Regions from separate parts of the Homo sapiens genome. Here all the other regions are linked to region 3. Evidence: promoter capture Hi-C in 16 types of primary human blood cells and fetal thymus (Javierre and others, 2016). All regions are on one chromosome and are shown on one strand. Each heading gives the region's core, a stretch centred on a gene start or on the middle of the fragment in contact. The rest is flanking DNA. Distances are from core to core; before and after follow the strand shown. Region 1 holds the start of LOC107986051 (a long non-coding RNA gene). Region 2 overlaps MECOM (MDS1 and EVI1 complex locus). Region 3 holds the start of MECOM (MDS1 and EVI1 complex locus).

Region 1 (4,519 bases), core at 317-2,816, 600 kb after region 3:
TATGTTCTTCTTGATTTCAACCTATTATTGTTAGTCATTTCCTCATGGTTAGCTTAGGAATCTCTATCCCTTCCTGGTATTTACACCTTCCAAATATTATGTCGACTTATCACCTGACCTGGCAATAACTGTTTAAAAATACATTTTTGGTTTATATATAGGATGATGGTTTTACATCCTATAAACACACTATACATGGATGTCTAGGGAGTAGGGAAAATACGCTTTTGTGTGAGTGAAAATATGTTGGCCATATATACCTGATATATGTAATTATAATCTTCATAATCATTCATTTCAGATTTGCCAACTTGCACATGTGGAAATGTTCAATTTGTAATGTGATTATAACACAAAAACAAAGCATGTTTGATACCTGTGGCTTGGTCGTTTCATAGTAACTGCAGAAAATTCAAAAAACCGTGTTACATTTCATATTCCTGGCCAAGTCAAACTCTGAAAGTAGCTCTATAATTCTTGGGGAATCTCTTTAAGCAGACTTGTGTCAAGGTCAATTAGAATCCAAACAGCCTTTTTCTAATTGGGGTGAGGTATGCAGTTGAATAATTCTGTCATTAAGCAAACCCCTTATAAAGGTTACAACTCCAAGGCAAACCTCAGCCCCAGGGCTGAATAAACACAGGAGAATAAGAGTGCAGCATTCCACGACTGGCACCTTCACCTCATAATCCCTGAGGAGAGGGTTTTGGATTTCTTTCTGTGCTATTGCCATCCACTTCTCCTTCTACCCATGCCATTTCTCATACCTGGTAAGGATATAACAGAATTAAGGGTGCAAGTGTAACTTTTCTATTAGCTTTATCCTTGTCAATAAGCCATACTGTTTTTCCTTCTTTAGGATGAGAATAATGGAGAATTCTACAGAACTGGTTCAATTTTTGGGTAAATCCGTATTGACTGTGGCATTCTTGGTTTATTCCAATTTGAACTCTTCTGTCTTTCTAAGACTTATCTCTCCCTAACTTTTCTCATTCCCCCAAGCTCAAAGATACATATCTTTGTTCATGCTATTGCTTCTGACAGCGATACTTGATCACTCATAAAACCTCACAGGCTTGAGAAATTGGCTGACCTCGCTCAAATCCTGTCTCCACCAGTTATAGCCTGTGTGACAATAGGTAAGGTATTTAATGTTTCTAAGTCTCAATTTCCTTGGCTGTAATGGGTTTACTTTAATAGTAACCTTACGGTTTTGTTTGGGGGAAGTAGAATTAAATTAATATGCTAAGTGCCTAATAAAAATAATAATAATCATCATCATAACTAATTTTGCGGTGTAGGCAGGTATTCCCGAAAAAGAGACTTAGAAATGGAGACTTATATGCAGGAAGTTTATTGGGGATTGTTTTTGGAATTAACACCTGTGGAAGTGAAAGAAATTGAACTATGATGCAGTCACAATAAAAACCTCAGCCTGTCTTCTGGAGAGCTCGGGAGCTGGGAAGGCCTTTAGAGTTGTCGCAAATCATGGCGAGGGGTCTGGTTCTTTAATTCCAGCATCTACTGGTCGTTGGATAAGGAGTGGTGCTGCAGAGGAAGCATGGTCTTGGATGTCTTTGAAGGACTGACGAGTACCGAAGTAGAGACATATGGATAGCACACTACGGTATTCAATAGAGACTATTCTTGCTGGGAGTGGTGGCTCATGCCTGTAATCCTAACACACTGGGAGGCCAAGGTGGGCTGATTGCTTGAGCTCAGGAGTTCGAAACCAGCCTGGGCAACATGGCAGAACCTTGTCTTTACAAAAAAAAAAAAAAAAATTAGCCAGGAGTGGTGGTGTGTGTCTGTAGTCCCAGTTACTTGGGGGCTAACGTGGGAGGATTGCTTGAGCCCAGGAGGTCGAGGCTTCAGTGAGCTAAGATCAGGCTACTGCACTCCAGCCTGGTGACAAAGTGAGACCCAGTCTCAGAAAAAAAAAAAAAAGAAAAAAAGAAGAGACCATTCTTGGCATTTCTTGGATCCACTTCCTAGGAGCAACTCCTTCACAGTTCTGTTGGATGTCTTTTGCTGAGGAAACTTAAAAGAAGAGTGTTAGTGGTATAAACATCAGACACTGCTACTGTAGTTGGTCTTGAGTCTGCAACTGATACTCATTCTCTCCCATCTCTGTCATTTTAAATTCCCTTGGTTGGCACATGAAGGTTTAGATGACTTATCTTATGGCGATGATCCAGAATCTCATTGCCAAGAGGTCTGATCTCATTGTCACCATACCTTTGTTAGTCTGTGGTCACTTCATTTCTTCATTTACCATCAAAATTGGCAAGGGAGTATCAAGAGACACCCAGGTGGATCACATGAGTACTGAACATATTCCTTCCTGACCCCAGTGTATGACAGCAACTCTCTCTACTCGTGATGATCAAGGTTAATTATCCCTGCTAGCATAGTAATTTCTTTCTTTGCTCTTGGTGTCCTGACATGCAGAGACCAAAGTGATCAGGCAGCAACTGCAGCTCAAGGCTTAGTATAATGTCTCCTTCTGAAAGCACTTCCCTTTAGGTATTATAGTCCCTAAACTTGCAGGTATGGGAAGCACAAATTCCCCAAGTCAATAAAAGTAATGGCAGTAAGACCACTCCTGTTTTCTTTCCTTGGGTCTTGGACCCAGGTATTCTAAATATTAAAGACAGAGAACCATATAATGGTCATTGGTTTAGGTTATATAACTGCATCATGAAGTATCCTACTTTATGAAGGATAGGGTCTTATCTTCACGGTCTATCATCTCCAAGCTGGCTGTAATTGCACTATTCCATTATTCTATCAGGCCAGTTTGGTGGAGCAGTATGTGATATAACCAATGGCTCCCATGGCCCTGTGTCCACTACCACACTTTCTTTAGTCTAGAGTGTTCCTTGGTCCAATGTGATGTTATGTGGGATCCTGTGTTGGTAATCAAACTCTGTGCACTCTCAGCTAATGATGGTGGGTGAGGTCCTGCAAGCAAGAAATGCAAGTCCATACTTAGAATGCATGTATAAGATGAGTTGCTGCCCCTTTCGAGGAAGAAGGGGTCCAATATTGTCAACTTGCCACTAAAATGGATGTCCTTGAGATACAATACTATAAAGAGCACACAAGTTGGACTCTATTCCTCACAAGCTGGACATTTGACAGTGGAAATAGCTAGATAAGCTTCAGTGAGGGAGAGCTCAGGCTTTTGGTCCCATGCAGATTGTCCATTCCTTCATCAGGCTACACCATTCATGCATCTATTGTGCAAGTACTGGGGCTGCTGATGAGCAGTCTGGCTAACATCAGCTGACTAGGTCATTCATTCTTTTTTCTTCTTCTACTCTTCCAGCTTTATCAAGCTACAACTAACAAGTAAAATTGTATATATATGAAGTACACAATGTGATGATTTGATATGTGTGTATATTATGAAATGATTACCACAATCAAGTTAATTAACACATCCAGCATCTCACATAGTTACTTTTGAAATTTTATTTTGGTGAGATGCTAAGATCTCTCTTAAGACATTTCAAGTAAACAATACAGTATTATTAACAAGAGCCATCATGCTGTTCATTAGTCCAGGTTAGAATGTATACTAACCTCATAACTGATTGGATTGTTTACTATAGACTCTGAAGGAATCTGTAGCTTGGTCTCCAATGTAGTCACCGCTTCTTGATCTATTCAGTTTAACTAACATGGTATCATTGATATAGTAGACCAATGTCATTTTCTTCAGAGTATCCATATGGTCCAAGTCCTTGGGACAGGAAATGGGAGATTTAACATAGCCCCAAGGAAAAGAATATATGTAAATGATGTTGTGTGTGTCAAATGAATATGAACTGTTCCTGATCTTTCTAATAGGATTAGAAAAAAATTGCATTCACCAGATTAGTGGTCATATATAATAAAATGTATCTGAGGCTTTATTAATCTTCCCTAGCAAATACACCATATCTTGTATAGCAGCCACAATTAGGACTCGTTGAATTTTTAATGGTCCATTGTCATCCTCCATGGTTCATCCCTTGCCCAGTTTCCAGATCTGTGCTTACTTTATTCACTTAAAAAAGGTAAAAAAAAAAAAAAAAAAGCAAACAGTTAAATAACTATTATATGTGCTGTCAGCTTCCACCTCAACCTTAGTCCTCAATGCAATAATTGTTCCCACCATGCTGCTTCTGTTATTATTCCAGCTCGTATCATCCCCACTATTATCAGGAAGGACAGTTCTATGGACACATCTCCTATCATTGGCCCTGGCCTATAGAGGACAGCTATTACTGAACTTCTCAGTTGTAGTGGTTCTCTTCTCACCTGCACTTCTTTATCATCTACCTTCATGAAATGTATGCACTGCACATGACCATTACTCTCAACTTTTCTTTATTTATTCTTCCTCATCTGCCAGAATACCCTGGTAAATATACTTCACTTAGCATGGGCCATAACTTTCAGCAAACTTCCAAGAGCTATCTTAGCAACGTATTAGCTTCATCTCCCAAGGTCATTTTCCAGGGCTTTAAGT
Region 2 (4,082 bases), core at 571-3,070, 560 kb after region 3:
CACAATATTCCTTTTGTGAGAAGAGATCATGTTCAGGCCATGCTGTTAAGACTTTGCTCTACTTTAAGAAGCTGATGGTATTCTGTCCAGCTGTGTGTCCACAGAATATATGTCTTGTTAATTTTTCCTTCTGAGTAGGAAATGTTGCCTTTTATTTTTAACTTGAGCTCATAAATTAGGCCTCCATCTCTGTCCTGCTGTCTCATTAGCAAAAGGATAGTTTCTTGGGTTGACCAGTTGTTTGAATTTGCAGTGATCATCTCAGTTCTTATGTGTCTTCTGGTCTAGCATCACAGCTCTTTGAGATTTTTATGTAATGCATATAGAATGCAAACACCTTTTAAAATAGCTTCTTGAGCTTTCTAATGGCACACTGCCCTGAGAATCAAATAAATAATGGGTGAGTTGATTTAACAGGATGGCCTGAAAGTTTGTTTTTCTACTTAAAAATTCAGTAATAAGCAGCTTCCAAATAAAATGTGAGCCCTGAGGAAACACAACATGTTGAGAGGGTCAAAGGAAAGGGGAGAGTCCCTCTGGCTGTGGAGCTTAAGAATCAAGCTAAGACTGGGCACAGTAGCTTATGCCTATAATCCCAGCACTTTGGGAGACCGAAGCAGGTGGAAGGATTGCTTGAGACCAGGAGTTCAAGACCAGCCTGAGCAACATAGTGAGACTCCATCTCTACAAAAAGTTTTTAAAAAACAGGGATCAAGCCAACTTTAAAAGTAAATGCCATCTTCTGCTTGTGACTCTCAAATAAGTGTGCAGGTGTACAAAAACTTGAAGATTATAAACAACAAAAATTAGATTACTAGAGGGGAAGAATTAGGCAGGGATAGTTTTCTTTCAAGAATGTTTCTCGAAAAGTGTGGTTACATAAACTGCTCCCCCTGTCTTACAAGGCACATGCCAAGTTATGTTATATGAAATTATATTAACATATGATGAACTGTCATTTCAACTTAGTCTTTGTCTTTGATAAAATTAATATTTAATCAAAATTCTTTGTATATGATCCTACATAAAAATATGGCATATCCAGATGTTAATTTAATGTAGTCTTAGGCAATACCCTCCTATACATTTAGTTTTTTCTTTCTGAGTTACCCATATTTGGCTTAAGCTGTAATTCTGTAATACTTCATGTTCTCCCATGCTTTCAGTTCTTTTCTTGGGACTGCATGGTTCTTACGGTTTTCATTGCCTAGGTAAGGCATATAGCAACTTTTCCTATAATTTCCGTTATGTTAATATCCATACCATGATACTAATGCTGTCATTTAATCAAATAAAAAGTTAACTTGGCTTTATTGGCTCTCTTATGTATTTCAATGTTCAATTATATATCAGATTATGATAAAATGGCCTAACCAAGGTCTTATGGAAAAAGTTCGCTCAGCATTTTATAAGCTTGGTTCTACTTATGGTATTTCCCAAATAAATCAATTCTGTTGTTGTTTATTTAATATTGGGATACTACAGTCTCTTTCTACAACCCGTCGCAGATTTCATGCTTCCCTTTTAATGATGTCCTTGGTTTGCCAGAGATTATTATAGAAGACAAGATGCCAAACGCTTCATGGTCTTGTGCTTTTACCTTTCAGATGTCAGCTATTGAAAACATGGCAGAAAAGCTAGAGAGCTTCAGTGCCCTGAAACCTGAGGCCAGTGAGCTCTTACAGTCAGTGCCCTCTATGTTCAACTTCAGGGCGCCTCCCAATGCCCTGCCAGAGAACCTTCTGCGGAAGGGAAAGGAGCGCTATACCTGCAGGTAACTGCACAGTTAATTATGGCTGACTTTCCAGAAATCTCCCCTCTGATTTCAAAAGGTCTTGCTGTTTGTTTTGGAAATTATTCCTGATTAGATGATTAATAGCCACCATAATAGATCTCCAGCACTTCAAAGTGTTCTTCATTTAGTGAAATATAAAAATAGTGTTTTTAAAAAATTATTAAATGTGAATTTTAACACAGGACATTTGGTTGTGATAAATGAGGTTGGAAACAATCCAAATACTATCTACTTGTCTCACTTTGATATTTATGAATTTTCTTTCACAATTAATTATTTTCATCTAAAGGTATACTACTACTGTCCTCAAGCATATATTTATTAATTGTCATGGCATTAAAGAATAAGGCCATTAATTAAAGAGAAGTAAGGTCCATAAGTGAATAAAACTAGCTAGTAAATTTTTTGTTACTCATCAGTAGTAAAGCTTATTTTATGTTTCTGGTTTTGTGTGTGATTTTTTTTTGCTAAATAAATTGTGCTTATAATTTCTGAATCATCTTTAGAAATGTGTAGGTATTTGACTCAGGCATATCACTTTATCTTCTCTTTGAAAAATATGTCACTTTCTTTCCAGAAATAAAGCTTTTATGGGTACATACCTTGATGGATGAAGTCTCAGGATTTTGTCTGATCTGATACCACTCTATGCATAGGGAGTTATCACTGTGGCTGACATGTAAAATGAGTTGAAACATTTGAAATCTGTTTACATCAACCCAGAATCAGAAACTCTTATCATATTTTTATCCCCTTATCTGGTTCAATTTTGTGAATGTAAAAATATTGAGTTAATAAGAGAGATGTATAGGAGTAATCAAAACTAAAGTCTATTTTCATAAATTGCTTGCTTATAAGTGAACAAATTCAACCAGATCTTAGAATGCAGTCTTTATTTGTAGAGTTATTTATATTAATATCTGTGAAATGGCTTTGTTGTAAATTTTAAATACCAAAGAAATGTGAGTTCCATGCAAGATTAATTGAATCAGGAATAAGCATCTGGCTGCTGTGTGGCATGAGTGAAATATAGTCAACTGTGCTGACTTTCTCTTATAAACATCTTTTCATAACAGATACTGTGGCAAGATTTTTCCAAGGTCTGCAAACCTAACACGGCACTTGAGAACCCACACAGGAGAGCAGCCTTACAGGTCTGACAATGATATTTGCTAAATATCTTGATAAATATTGTAATAATTAAAGTTTATTTTAATAATAAAATAATAATTAAAGTTTATAATAATTAAAGTTTAAATTTTATGCGTGTCTGAATATATGTCTATTCAATTTTGAGTCAAGAAAGAATTGACTAATGGCTAGGATCAAAATTAGAAGAGTTCCAGTTTCTTTAATCAAGGCTTCCTACCTCTCAGTTTAAAAGTTCTAGCACAGTGTCTAGGACAGAATAAGTACTTAAGAAATGCTAGCCATTTTAAATATTATTTTTTATTATCATTTGTTCTCTTTTCTCAATAATTAGGATGATCTTAATTGACAAAAATCATAACTTTGCAGCCTTCCTTTTCCAAGCCTCAAATCTCTGCTAGGAGTTAATAACCCATATGTACTTTTTTTCCCCCAGCACAGCTAAGTCATTTTCCATGGATTCCAATAGGAGGTTTAAAGGATAGATTTTAGGCTGGGCATGGTGGCTGACGCTTGTAATCCCGACACTTTGGGAGGCAGAGGCAGGTGGATCCCTTGAGGTCAGGAGTTTGAGATCAGCCTGGCTAACATGGTGAAACCCTGTGTCTACCAAAAATACAAAAATTAGCCAGGTGTGGTGGCTCACACCTGTAGTCCCAGCTACTTGTGAGACTGAGGCAGGAGAATCCACTGCACCTGGGAGGTGGAGGTTGCAGTGAGCCAAGATTGCACCACTGCACTCCAGCCTGGGTGACAGAGTGAGACTCTGTCAAAAAAAAAAAAAAAAAGAAAGAAAGAAAGAAAGAAAGAAAAAAAGAATAGATCTTAAACCTGGGAAGTCAGGGGAGAAGAAAATATGAAACTAGAGGTAGGACAGATAAAATAGAGTATATTATAGAAAAACGGGCAATTTTATCAATAATTTCCTAAATTACCTCTTAGTTTATTCTATTACATGCCAAAATTAGTCATATGACACATTGGACACATCTAATTTTAATATTGTTTAGAAAGATTAGATTGAAAATAGACAACATTACTCTTTCCAATTTTAAAATATAAACTACATTATTTAATGTTCAATGCCTTGCACACAGTATTAGTTACTCGTAAATATTTCTTCAAAGAATGAATATTA
Region 3 (4,615 bases), core at 1,872-4,371:
AGGTGGGGTGGGGGCGGGTAGCTAGGGCAGCTCCGCCAACTTGTTGGAGGCCTCTTTTCTCTTGGGCCAGCGACAGCTCAGACATCCCGTCAGAGGGTGTCGGGAACTCTAGGGGCTGCTGAACAGTCACCTGCTCTGGTCTCACGGCTGGGACTGGGACAGGTGGAAGTGACAGGGTCCAGGCACTTGAGAATGGGAACCGGCCGGGGCGGACGCGCAGAGGTCGCGGCGCTATCAGCCGCGAGCGCGACCGGTTGCTGCTGGGTGTTTGCTCCATCAGGTTAAACACACTTGAACTAGCAACTTAGCTCTTTATTAGCGCACACTTAGGGCAGAAAGCTAATGATAAAGAAAGAAAAAGAAAAGGAGAGAAAAGGAAAAGAAGCCCAGCTTTTAGGTTTGAAAATAAAAAACGAATGATATTGAGAATACTTTTATTTATTTAAAAGACGATGTCTTGTCTTTTCACAATGGCTTGGTCTGGGGACAGAGAAGAGTTTGCGTTTATTATTTGTTAGAAGGGGTTGGATTTTCTCGTGGCCCGAAACTGTTAGAAAGACCAGGGAGAAAGCTGGAGCGCTGAAGCGACAGCGGAGACTTCAAACCAGAAGGGGAGGGGTACTCCAGCCGCGCCTCATTCCGCCTCCCACTCCGCCAACCCCCCTTCTAGAAAAGTTTAAAAGACGGGGACCTTTAAATTTGGAGGTTCGGAGACTCCGATTCACTTCAGTCTTCCACCTCCCACCCAGTTCCCCTCACAGAACCCACCCCCTACCTCCCCAACCCTCCACGTGGTTTATAATTTCTCAGCAGCAACAGCAAGCTCAGCTTCACATGTGGGTCTTGCATTTAATCTCAGAGTTTGGTACCTTGGTCCCCTCCTTTCCTAGGAACATTTCTTGCACCCCTCTTAACCTCCCGTCTCCAAGGGAACCTAGACATAGACAGACCCCCTGGGGATGAGGTGAAAGGGATTAGCCGGAGGAGTGGAGGGGAGGATGGCGGTTCTTTTCTTTTTTCTTTTCTTCTCTTTCTTTTTTTTTTTTAAGCTACCTTGGCGGTTGGGCACCAAGGCAAGGTGCTCAGCCACCCCTGGGGTGCCTGGCAGGGAAGGTGAGGATTGGAGGGACAAGACCTAGATTTTGACAGCTGGGATCTTCAGGTGCTGCTGGTCTGTCCCCTGGCCTAGGGGATGGTCCCTAGAGAGTCTCTTACACCGATCAGAAGCAGCCTTATGAACTTCTTGCCAGTCAGCCTAGTGTTTGTCTCTCCCTAGAGATTTTGTCCCCCCTTCCAAAGCCTCTCAAGACCCATTTCTCCGTTTCCTCGGAGGACATTTGCTGGTCAGAGGGTAGGCACCTCTCCATCTAAACTGAGGGAAGCTGGTGGAGTCACATTTTGGGGGAAGTTTCAGAGTCAAAGACCTGTGTGAACCTAACAGAATGTTGGAATGGCTGGTGCTTTTGCACACACCAAATGTGTTAGCACACTCACCTTTATGCACAGGACAGCGGGAATTCTAGGTCTGGAAAAAAACCCAGGTGCCTCTTTAATTCAGAGTGGATAATAGAGTTCTCTTGTGCCCACGCGTGTGGGCACTAGAGCCTTCTCTTTTGGAAGTTGTTTTACTCCTGTTGTGAGTAATTCCCTCCTTTACCTTCCTACTTCCCTTCCTCACATTTCAACCTTATACATCTGTCTCCCTTGAGACCTGTAGCTTGGTTCTCCAGGGACCTCTATCTTACAGCCAAATGCCCCCAGAATTACACAGCTCTGGATAAAGGAAAATGGTAGGCATCCTTAACAAGGACAAATTCTTTGAACTTTGATTCTCTTGAATAAAGAGATTTGCAGGCCATTGATACCCTTTGGGGTTGAACCTTGTTATTTGCTCTCTCATGTCTGCAGTCCTAGATTTGATAATAAATACCAACAGGTACGACTGGGCATTCTCAATGATTCCCCTTTCCCTCCACAGCCTTTGCCAAACTCATGCCCAGGACCTGCTTTTCTTTTCCTTTAACTTGAACATCAAGGATGTATTGTTGCAGCACGGAGACTGAAAAGATTGTAATTTTCTTTTATGGTGTCTGGCAGGATTTGCAACAGATATTAATGGGGACATAAATAGCACATGGAAGGTATTGAACAAAACTGTTTAATGCAAGAAGGTTGTACCAAAAGAAAATCTATACCTAGTTGGGATTGATTCATACCTTGTACACAGCTAGCCCCTTTAGGAATTCCCATTTCTGAGTGGCACTTCATTGGTAAATCCTGTAATTAAAGGAAATTTCAACAATGTATTTTTTTAAGAGTGTGTGATTTTCCTCCCTACTCCTCTTTCTTTTGACCCCGAGGTTGTAGGTTTAAGCGAGTGAGTGAAAATGGCAGGCAAGCAGAGCTGCATCGGGAGGCGACCGGGGCAGCAGTGGGGGAGGCCGGAAGGTGACAGCCGACCTCTGAGAAAGCAGGAGGTCTTTGGATGTCAAATGCCAGCGCCGGCCCGGACCCGGGAATCAAGGGTGATCATTACTACTTGGTAGGGAAAGAATACTGAAATGTCCCAAGGATGGCAGCAAGCATTGGTATTACAGCTAAAATCGAGGAAAAAACCAGTTATTTATTCTGCTTACAACCCTGAAAGCGGAAGCTGCAATAGCTTCAGTAGCAGTAGCAGCGGCAGCAGTAGATTTCTCAAGTTCAGGATGATTCTCACTTTCTCCTGGATTATTAGCCGAGGGTCCAGCCCTTCTAGTTCTTTAACAGGAGAAGGGTTTTTAAAAAATGTTTTTAAAGTTTTTTTCCCCCCTGGCTTCTTGCTTCCCTCGTAGATGGTATAGAAAAATGTCTGCAATTTATGGTGGGAAAAACAATAACAATAATCATGATACAAGCTTGTTGGCGATTCTAACATGGAATCAATCCTCTGCCCAAGCCTTTTCAATTCCCCCCTCCCCTTTTTTTGGGCGAGGTGTCTGCTCCCCTCTGGCTCCCTGCGTTCGCTCCCCGCCCCCCGCCGCCCTCCCCGCGGCTCCCTTTCTCCGCCTCCTCGGCGATTGCCATCTGACAAGATCTCCAAATCAAAGTGATAAATCGCTCCAAACTTTTTTTGGCGGCGCTGAGATGTTGGAGGGGCGTCTAGCGCGCATGTGCGAAGGTGTCCAAACTGACAATGCTGGAGAGATAGCGAGTGTGGATTGAGAGAAAGGGAGAGAGGGAGGGAGAGAGAGTGAAAGAAGAAAATACAGAGAGTGAGTGTGTGGAAGAGAGAGAGAAACAGGAGAGAAACAGGAGGGAGGGAGAGAGAGAGAGAGAGAGAGAGAGAGAGAGAGAGAGAGAGAGAGAGAGAGAGAGACAGGAGAGAGAGGGAGGGAGCGAGAGGGAGAGCAAAAGAAGGAAAGGATCCAAGAAAAAAAAGCCCCAACCACACACCAGCGGCTGCAGGACTGGGCACAGCATGAGATCCAAAGGCAGGGCAAGGAAACTGGCCACAAGTAGGTGCAATATCCCTTTTCTATTGGCTTTTCCCCCTCCTCTGCCATCTTGCATATCTGTCTCTAGCGCTCCGGGAGGGAGCGCGGGCTGCCTCTTGCGCCGGGGCCCCGGGTGGAGGGCAGGCGGAGCGCAGCCCCAGCAACCTGCCGGTTCCAGTCTCTGCTCCCGGTCGCCCGCGCTCTCGCTCCCGGGTTGGGCGCCGGAGGAGCCTGGGCAGCCCTCAGTCCCGCGCACCGACCAGCTGTGGCAACCCCGGGGTGGGGGTGGGGGTGGGGGCAGCAAAGACTAGGGGTGGGAGGGAGGAGAGAGCGCGAGAGTGAGCGCGAAGGGGTGGGGTGGGGGGGAAGAGAAGAGGAGAAAGTCTCCCCCTCCCCTCCCCTTCCCCCCAGGCGGGGGAGAGTTGCCTCTGGCCAACCAGCTAGTCCCGGGTGTGGGAGGAGGGGGGCGCGGGGGATGGGGGGCCGGCAGGAGAAGGGAGCCTTTTCGAGCCTCGGTTTGTTTCTGGGGTTTGGGTAGGGTAGGCGGCTCAGAGGGAGCCACAGTGGCGGCGGCGGCGGGCGGCTGTGGTGGACTTGGGAAAAGTTGCGAGGCGGCCGCTGGAAGTTGCGCGGGCGGGCGGGTGGACTGCGCCGAGCCGCGGCTGCGGTAGTGGGCGCTGTGCGCTCGGCCATGCTCTCCGGCGCGGCGCTGCGCGGCGGGAGGACTGCGGCGGGGAGTAGGGGACACCAAGGTGGGGGCTGTGATCGCGGGGTGGGGGCGGGGGCACGGGCAGAGCAGAGCTACCGGCTCCGCACAGCCACGCGCAGGTGGGGAGGAAAGAGGCCCAGCGAGCGCTCGGACGTGGGGAGAGAAGAGGCCCAGCGAGCGCTCGGAGAGCCGGGAGTGGAGGGCACACAGCCAGCGGCGGCAGCCTAGGAGCAGGAGGCAGAGAGGGCGCGCTGCGACCCGCGCACCTCGGGCTTGCTGGGCGCCGAGCAAACCCCAGGGGGCGGGCTGCCAGAGCGTTGGGCCGCGGAGAGGGCGCAGCGCAGCCTCCGGCGCTTCGTCTGGGTGCAGCCTGGGTCCAGGGTCAATAACCCTCCCCGGCGCCCCCTGCCTGCCCGGCGCGGAGCGGCCT

The links. The method cuts DNA at HindIII sites, captures the fragments that hold promoters and counts their contacts. A CHiCAGO score of 5 or more calls a contact.
Region 1: a contact is called between a fragment that was not itself captured here and the fragment with the promoter of MECOM in region 3, in 1 of 17 cell types (endothelial precursors). The highest score is 6.1, in endothelial precursors.
Region 2: a contact is called between a fragment that was not itself captured here and the fragment with the promoter of MECOM in region 3, in 1 of 17 cell types (endothelial precursors). The highest score is 7.9, in endothelial precursors.

Annotation. Positions count from the first base shown.
Region 1 is chr3:169,060,366-169,064,884 of GRCh38, reverse strand. LOC107986051 (a long non-coding RNA gene) reads left to right here and starts at 692. Exons shown (of 3, transcript XR_001740574.2): 1 at 692-770. The HindIII fragment of the contact is 3,196 bases long and covers 1-3,164 here.
Region 2 is chr3:169,099,752-169,103,833 of GRCh38, reverse strand. MECOM (MDS1 and EVI1 complex locus) reads left to right here. Exons shown (of 17, transcript NM_004991.4): 11 at 1,608-1,774; 12 at 2,872-2,949. Among named protein-coding and RNA genes, the nearest start is that of LINC01997, 99 kb to the right of the region's middle. The HindIII fragment of the contact is 809 bases long and covers 1,416-2,224 here.
Region 3 is chr3:169,662,218-169,666,832 of GRCh38, reverse strand. MECOM (MDS1 and EVI1 complex locus) reads left to right here and starts at 3,121. Exons shown (of 17, transcript NM_004991.4): 1 at 3,121-3,497. The coding sequence starts at 3,461. RefSeq lists an enhancer at 1-200 and a silencer at 4,130-4,229. The HindIII fragment of the contact is 2,702 bases long and covers 2,900-4,615 here.